Regions from separate parts of the Homo sapiens genome. Here region 1 is linked to region 2. The links are contacts of gene promoters, found by promoter capture Hi-C in blood cells and fetal thymus (Javierre and others, 2016). All regions are on one chromosome and are shown on one strand. Each heading gives the region's core, a stretch centred on a gene start or on the middle of the fragment in contact. The rest is flanking DNA. Distances are from core to core; before and after follow the strand shown. Region 1 has its middle 97 kb from the start of DIRC3-AS1. Region 2 holds the start of IGFBP5 (insulin like growth factor binding protein 5).

Region 1 (3,152 bases), core at 118-2,617, 490 kb before region 2:
ATTTTCTCTCAGACTGACTGATTTCTATGAGATTCTATGGGTATCAGTTTGTGTGTCACTTTCTCTGAGAAACTTCTTCCCTTGACCCCTTGGCTTAGGTTGGAAGTCCACGTTAGGTACTCTCATACTATTTTGTACTCCTATCAAAGCCTATGGATCATTTTATGCATTTGTCCATTTAATTGTCTGCGTCTCCCACTCACCACCCCCCACCCCAGCACCAGGCTATAAACTTGGAAAAAGCAGGAACACATGACAGAGAATAAAAAATTGACACTTGAACTAATGAATTAGTGGATGAACAAATGTAATATAAACCAATGAAGAAACAGTAAATGACTGATGATCATTGCTTCTGGTCCTAATTTAATTCAGATATTTATTCATCTTTTTCCCACTGTGGGACAGATGTTCACATCTAACCCATGAATCGTCAGTGAAAAAGGTCATTAACTACACGAGGGAGAAAATGATGCTGACTACAGTTTTAACCTCCTTTGACTTTCCAAGAACTGCTTTTAGTACATTCTGTTTTCAAAGATCAGCCCCTCTGCTGCTTCCAAAAACCTGTCCCAATCTGTCCAGCTCATCCCTGGCCTTGATTGCAGGGGGGATATTGAGTCCTGCAGCTTCTGAGCCAGTTCTAGTGGAAAAGCAGAGACTGGGGAAGCTGGAGGAAGCAGGATTTGATATTCTTGGCCTCTGGATGCTCCCTGATTATTATTTTTTAATATCCTGAGAACAGATTAGGATGAAGCAGATTAGGGAAAAGTCATGAGACATAAGCCATAACTGAGCTTCTCTCTGCTGAAAGCATTCCCTGGGGAAAGGAAGCTGGCTGCATCCTTTAGTAAAACAGGGTAGGTCTTGGACCTGCTGAGTGTGGGAGGAACCCAACCAAATGCAGTCCACGAATCAAATTTTCCTGCTTCTCACTCTGTCGCCACTTACTAATAAAAACTGGGCCAAGTGACACATGTAAGAAAAACCCAAACTCAGATGGTAATGTGACCTTGCCATCTCCCCTTCCAACGCATACATTAGTTCTCTTTACATACGTACTTCATATTCTGTTCCAGAATCAGGAAGGAGTCTGCCTTTACCCCTAGTTGGTCTACTAATAACTGTTGAAATTTCAAAACCAAACTTTGAACTTTGGTAGTAGAGCTTGAAGTCCCAACTGTGTCAATTTCTTATATTGCAACATGAGGGATGTCCCTGTCTTGGACTCACATGTCTTGGGTGAGTGCCGAACATGAACACAGCCGGACACCGCCACTGACACAGAGTGGGTTCTCGGGTAAAGTTCATCCACTCGGTCACTGATATGGGTGAGCAGGCACAGTCTCAGTTTATGCCTATTGTCTAACATAACTACTAGTAGTGTCCACTTTCCTTTAAAAGTGTCCTATTTGGATGATCCATTTTATAGTCACCCTAGTTTCAGTAGAATGTAATTTGGAATTGTTCCTTGGAAGGTTCCTCTGAGGCAATGGCATCTATTGCAGACATACATCCCCAAGGGCATGCAGTTATCCCTCACGTTTCTGTCTTCCTTCTCTCCTCCTTTTCTTAAGCCCAGGGGGTCTTAAATTCCTTCTCTTCATTTGTACTGGGAGGAACACTTTTGAGATCAGAAAGAAGTGATAGAGAAACTGCCCTGCCCTGCCTCTATTAGTGGAGGCCGATTAACTTTTATTTTTCCCCACATTTCTTTCTAGAGGAGTCATTTAGATCCCTTAATTTAGAGCCCAGGACATTCCAGAGTGCTCTGGGATAACAAATGAATGCATGGCCCAAGAAGGAAAAGCATGACAAATGGCAGGTTCTTGGAGAATCCAACGTGGCATTTTACACATCATAATTCAGGCATGAATGGTTCATCAGAAACTGCTAAAGGGAGAAATCCCGAAGTTAGAGAAATCTATCCCAGTCCAAAATGGCCAGCAAAACATAGAAAATGCCCTGAAAAAAGCAAAGAGAAGACTCGGTTCACAACACATAATAATGTTTCAGTCCATGATGGACTGCATATATGATGGTGGTCTCATAAGATTATAATGGAGCTGAAAAGTTCCTATTGCCTAGTGACATCGTAGCCATGGTAATATTGTACCCATCATGACGTCACCATCATAGCATCATAATGCAAGACATTACATGTTTGTGGTGATGCTGGTATAAACAAACCCACGATGCTGTCAATTGTATAAAAGTCTAGCACACACTATGATGTACAGTACATAATAATTGATAATGATAATAAACAATGATGTCACTGGTTTTATATTTACTATATGTTACTTTTTATCATTAGAGTATGGTCTTTCTACTTACTAAAAAGAATGTTGGCCAGGCGCGGTGGCTCACACCTAGCCCACCAGGCCAAGGTGGGCGGATCACCTGAGGTCAGGAGTTCAAGACCAGCCTGGCCAACATGGTGAAACCCCGTCTCTACTAAAAATGCTAGCCAGGCATGGAGGTGGGCACCTGTAATCCCAGCTACTCAGGAGGCTGAGACAGGGGAATCACTTGAACCTGGAAGGCAGAGGTTGCAGCGAGCCGAGATTGCGCCACTGCACTCCAGCCTGGGCAATAAAGAGCGAAACTCCATCTCAAAAAAAAAAAAAAAAAAAAAAAAGTGAATTGTAAAACAAGTTCAGATGGGTCCTTCAGGAAGACATGAAGAAGGCATTGTTATCATAGGAAATGACAGCTCCATGCATGCTATTGCCCTTGAAGACCTTCCTGTGGGAGAAGATGTGGAGGTGGAAGACAGTGATTTTGACAATCCTGATCTTAGGTAGGCCTCAGCTAATGTGTGTATTTGTGTCTTCATTTTTAACAAAGAAGCTTAAAAAGTAAAAAAATAAAAAATAAAAAAATAAAAAATTAACATGGTAAAAAAGCTTATAGAATAAGGATATAAAGAAAATATTTTTATTCTGTTGTACAATGTGTTTGTGTTTTCAGCTAAATGTTATTACAGGAGTTAAAAAGTTTAAAAAAGTTATAAAGTAAAAAATTTACAGCAAGCTAAAGTTAATTTATTATTGAAGAAAAAAATAGTTTTTATACTTGTAAGTGTAGCCTAAGTGTCCAGTGTTTATAAAATCTACGGTAGTATATAGTCAGGTCCTAGGCCTTCACAA
Region 2 (3,146 bases), core at 339-2,838:
CACCACGTGGCTAAACCCCCTTTGGCAATACAGGCAAAGACATAACTTTAGACGTTAACCTTGTTTTAAAATGTGCCTTTCGGCAAATAGATAAGTGAGAAGAGAGATCAGGATCTGGGGGTGTTAACGGCATAAAGTGAGATGCTCCTGAACTGAACGAGCAAGAAAAAATATTTTCTTGAAAGCAGTCCTCCAGAAAGAATTCTTATCATAGATAAGGGTGCAGTCTAGTGGCAAACTTCATGAAATGCAGCCCCTTCTCCAAAGGAAAGTTAGAATACTTCTCAAGGGAGGAAGCACAATGTAAAAGGTGTAACAGCCCACACCAAGTCCACCCAGCAGGGGCAGTGACATTGGTCATTTCTCTCTGACTTGCCTGTGAGGCTCATGGCTCACTCAGGTCAATTTCAGAAAAAGCTAAAACCACCACCTTCCTATTTCAAGGCCTTAGTTTTCTTTCATTTTATTAAAGAGGTTCTAGTGGCATGATTCGGTTCCTGGTCAGGACCTCTTCCAAGCAGGTCCTGTGGCCCTGTCAGCTCATATTCCTGGGATGTGCCTATAAGCACCAACTAACCTGTCAACCTATCACAAGGTCTCCTCCAGCTACTCTGCCACCCACTCCCTCCAGGGATGTGGCCCTGCCCAATAGAAATACCTCTGCAAAGTGACAGAGAGGGAAGTGTCACTCCAATCCACCTTTCTTCCCTCTAAGAACCCCACACACAAGGACACTTTAGGCCACCATGCAAGGTTTTCAGACTTAGCATTTCCTCCAAAGTGTCCATCTCTGCAACTCACTGCTCTCAATAATGCTGTTGTATGAATGTCCATTCCTGCAGATACACAACACACACACATACACACACACACACAGAGAGAGAGAAAGAGAGAGAGAACCTCCCTGGCCAACGCAGCTGAAGGCAACTGGTCACCTCTTCATCATGAGTACTGAAACCCCCTGATTAAATCCTCTTCTCCAGACTTTTAGGGGAGAAATTCAATTTTTTCTTCTTTTTTAAATTTAGCTCACCAGACATCACTGGCCATTCTACACTACCTGTCCCCCAAACACACACACACACACACCCCACATGGAAACAGACACCAGCATACAGTCAATTGCAGAAGCTTAGGAAGATTTCTTGGGCACGGTATATCCAGTTGGCTAATAAGAAAATACGTCTCCCTTCAGCCTGTGCCTTGACTACTTAAAGGATAGGAGGGAAGGGGAGACGAAGTTACTCTCCTCATTGTGTTCACCCTGCTCCGAAGAACTCTGTCTTCCACTGGCCCCTCCACCTCCTCCCCATTCTCGGTAGCCCCAGCCTGTCCCCCTTGCCCCTTTCTTACATTCCGGGGGGAGGAGGGCGCTGTTCAGAGGGGAGGAGGGCGCTGTTCAGGGAGCGAAGGGGAGCCCCCTTGTGTCTAGAAGGCCTCTCCCCACCCCCACCCCGTGTGAGTTTGTACTGCAAAGCTCCTTGGCATCCTTGCCTGAGTTGGGTGTTGGGAAGCTCAAATTGCAGCTACAAACTGGCTGGCAGCCAGGGGCCGGCTATTTAAAAGCGCCTGCTCTCCCGGAGCCCCGTAGTCTCTTTGGAAACTTCTGCAGGGGAAAAGAGCTAGGAAAGAGCTGCAAAGCAGTGTGGGCTTTTTCCCTTTTTTGCTCCTTTTCATTACCCCTCCTCCGTTTTCACCCTTCTCCGGACTTCGCGTAGAACCTGCGAATTTCGAAGAGGAGGTGGCAAAGTGGGAGAAAAGAGGTGTTAGGGTTTGGGGTTTTTTTGTTTTTGTTTTTGTTTTTTAATTTCTTGATTTCAACATTTTCTCCCACCCTCTCGGCTGCAGCCAACGCCTCTTACCTGTTCTGCGGCGCCGCGCACCGCTGGCAGCTGAGGGTTAGAAAGCGGGGTGTATTTTAGATTTTAAGCAAAAATTTTAAAGATAAATCCATTTTTCTCTCCCACCCCCAACGCCATCTCCACTGCATCCGATCTCATTATTTCGGTGGTTGCTTGGGGGTGAACAATTTTGTGGCTTTTTTTCCCCTATAATTCTGACCCGCTCAGGCTTGAGGGTTTCTCCGGCCTCCGCTCACTGCGTGCACCTGGCGCTGCCCTGCTTCCCCCAACCTGTTGCAAGGCTTTAATTCTTGCAACTGGGACCTGCTCGCAGGCACCCCAGCCCTCCACCTCTCTCTACATTTTTGCAAGTGTCTGGGGGAGGGCACCTGCTCTACCTGCCAGAAATTTTAAAACAAAAACAAAAACAAAAAAATCTCCGGGGGCCCTCTTGGCCCCTTTATCCCTGCACTCTCGCTCTCCTGCCCCACCCCGAGGTAAAGGGGGCGACTAAGAGAAGATGGTGTTGCTCACCGCGGTCCTCCTGCTGCTGGCCGCCTATGCGGGGCCGGCCCAGAGCCTGGGCTCCTTCGTGCACTGCGAGCCCTGCGACGAGAAAGCCCTCTCCATGTGCCCCCCCAGCCCCCTGGGCTGCGAGCTGGTCAAGGAGCCGGGCTGCGGCTGCTGCATGACCTGCGCCCTGGCCGAGGGGCAGTCGTGCGGCGTCTACACCGAGCGCTGCGCCCAGGGGCTGCGCTGCCTCCCCCGGCAGGACGAGGAGAAGCCGCTGCACGCCCTGCTGCACGGCCGCGGGGTTTGCCTCAACGAAAAGAGCTACCGCGAGCAAGTCAAGATCGGTGAGCGCGCTCAGTGTGCCAGTCAGTTACGCGGCGCACGGGCGGGGGACACGAGACCGGCTGGGCCCGCGCGCTTTGCGCAGCAAGTGGCTTCGAGCTGGGGTGCAGCTCGGGAGTAGTCGGGGAGGGTCCTTGCACCCCGGAATTGGAGCCCTGGAGGATCCTGCTACCCGGGGGAACTGTCTAGCCGAGTCTATCCCAGCTTTCGCTCTTTCTCCTTCCTCCTACCCACACGTTGCCCGCCCCCTCCCCCTACTCTGTCCGAATACTGATTCTGAGCTCTTATTCGGTCACAAGGTCCAAATCCCCTGGTACCCTATCTACAGTCTGAAAGAGTGTATGTTACATTATCAACTCCCTCCTCCACCCCCCTCGCGCCCCGCATAGGTTTTTTTCTGAACTTGGAAAAAAAATCTCTTTTGTTAAAATATTATTTTAATTGCGGCCT

What was found. The method cuts DNA at HindIII sites, captures the fragments that hold promoters and counts their contacts. A CHiCAGO score of 5 or more calls a contact.
Region 1: a fragment that was not itself captured here is called in contact with the fragment with the promoter of IGFBP5 in region 2 in 1 of 17 cell types (megakaryocytes); the score reaches 6.3 in megakaryocytes.

What each region holds. Positions count from the first base shown.
Region 1 is chr2:217,184,438-217,187,589 of GRCh38, reverse strand. No RefSeq gene overlaps it. Among named protein-coding and RNA genes, the nearest start is that of DIRC3-AS1, 97 kb to the left of the region's middle. The HindIII fragment of the contact is 2,976 bases long and covers 1-2,855 here.
Region 2 is chr2:216,693,991-216,697,136 of GRCh38, reverse strand. It overlaps IGFBP5 (insulin like growth factor binding protein 5), which reads left to right and starts at 1,588. Exons shown (of 4, transcript NM_000599.4): 1 at 1,588-2,698. The coding sequence starts at 2,362. It overlaps IGFBP-AS1 (IGFBP5 antisense RNA 1), which reads right to left and starts at 2,691. Exons shown (of 6, transcript NR_187138.1): 1 at 2,376-2,691. The HindIII fragment of the contact is 8,390 bases long and covers 1,134-3,146 here.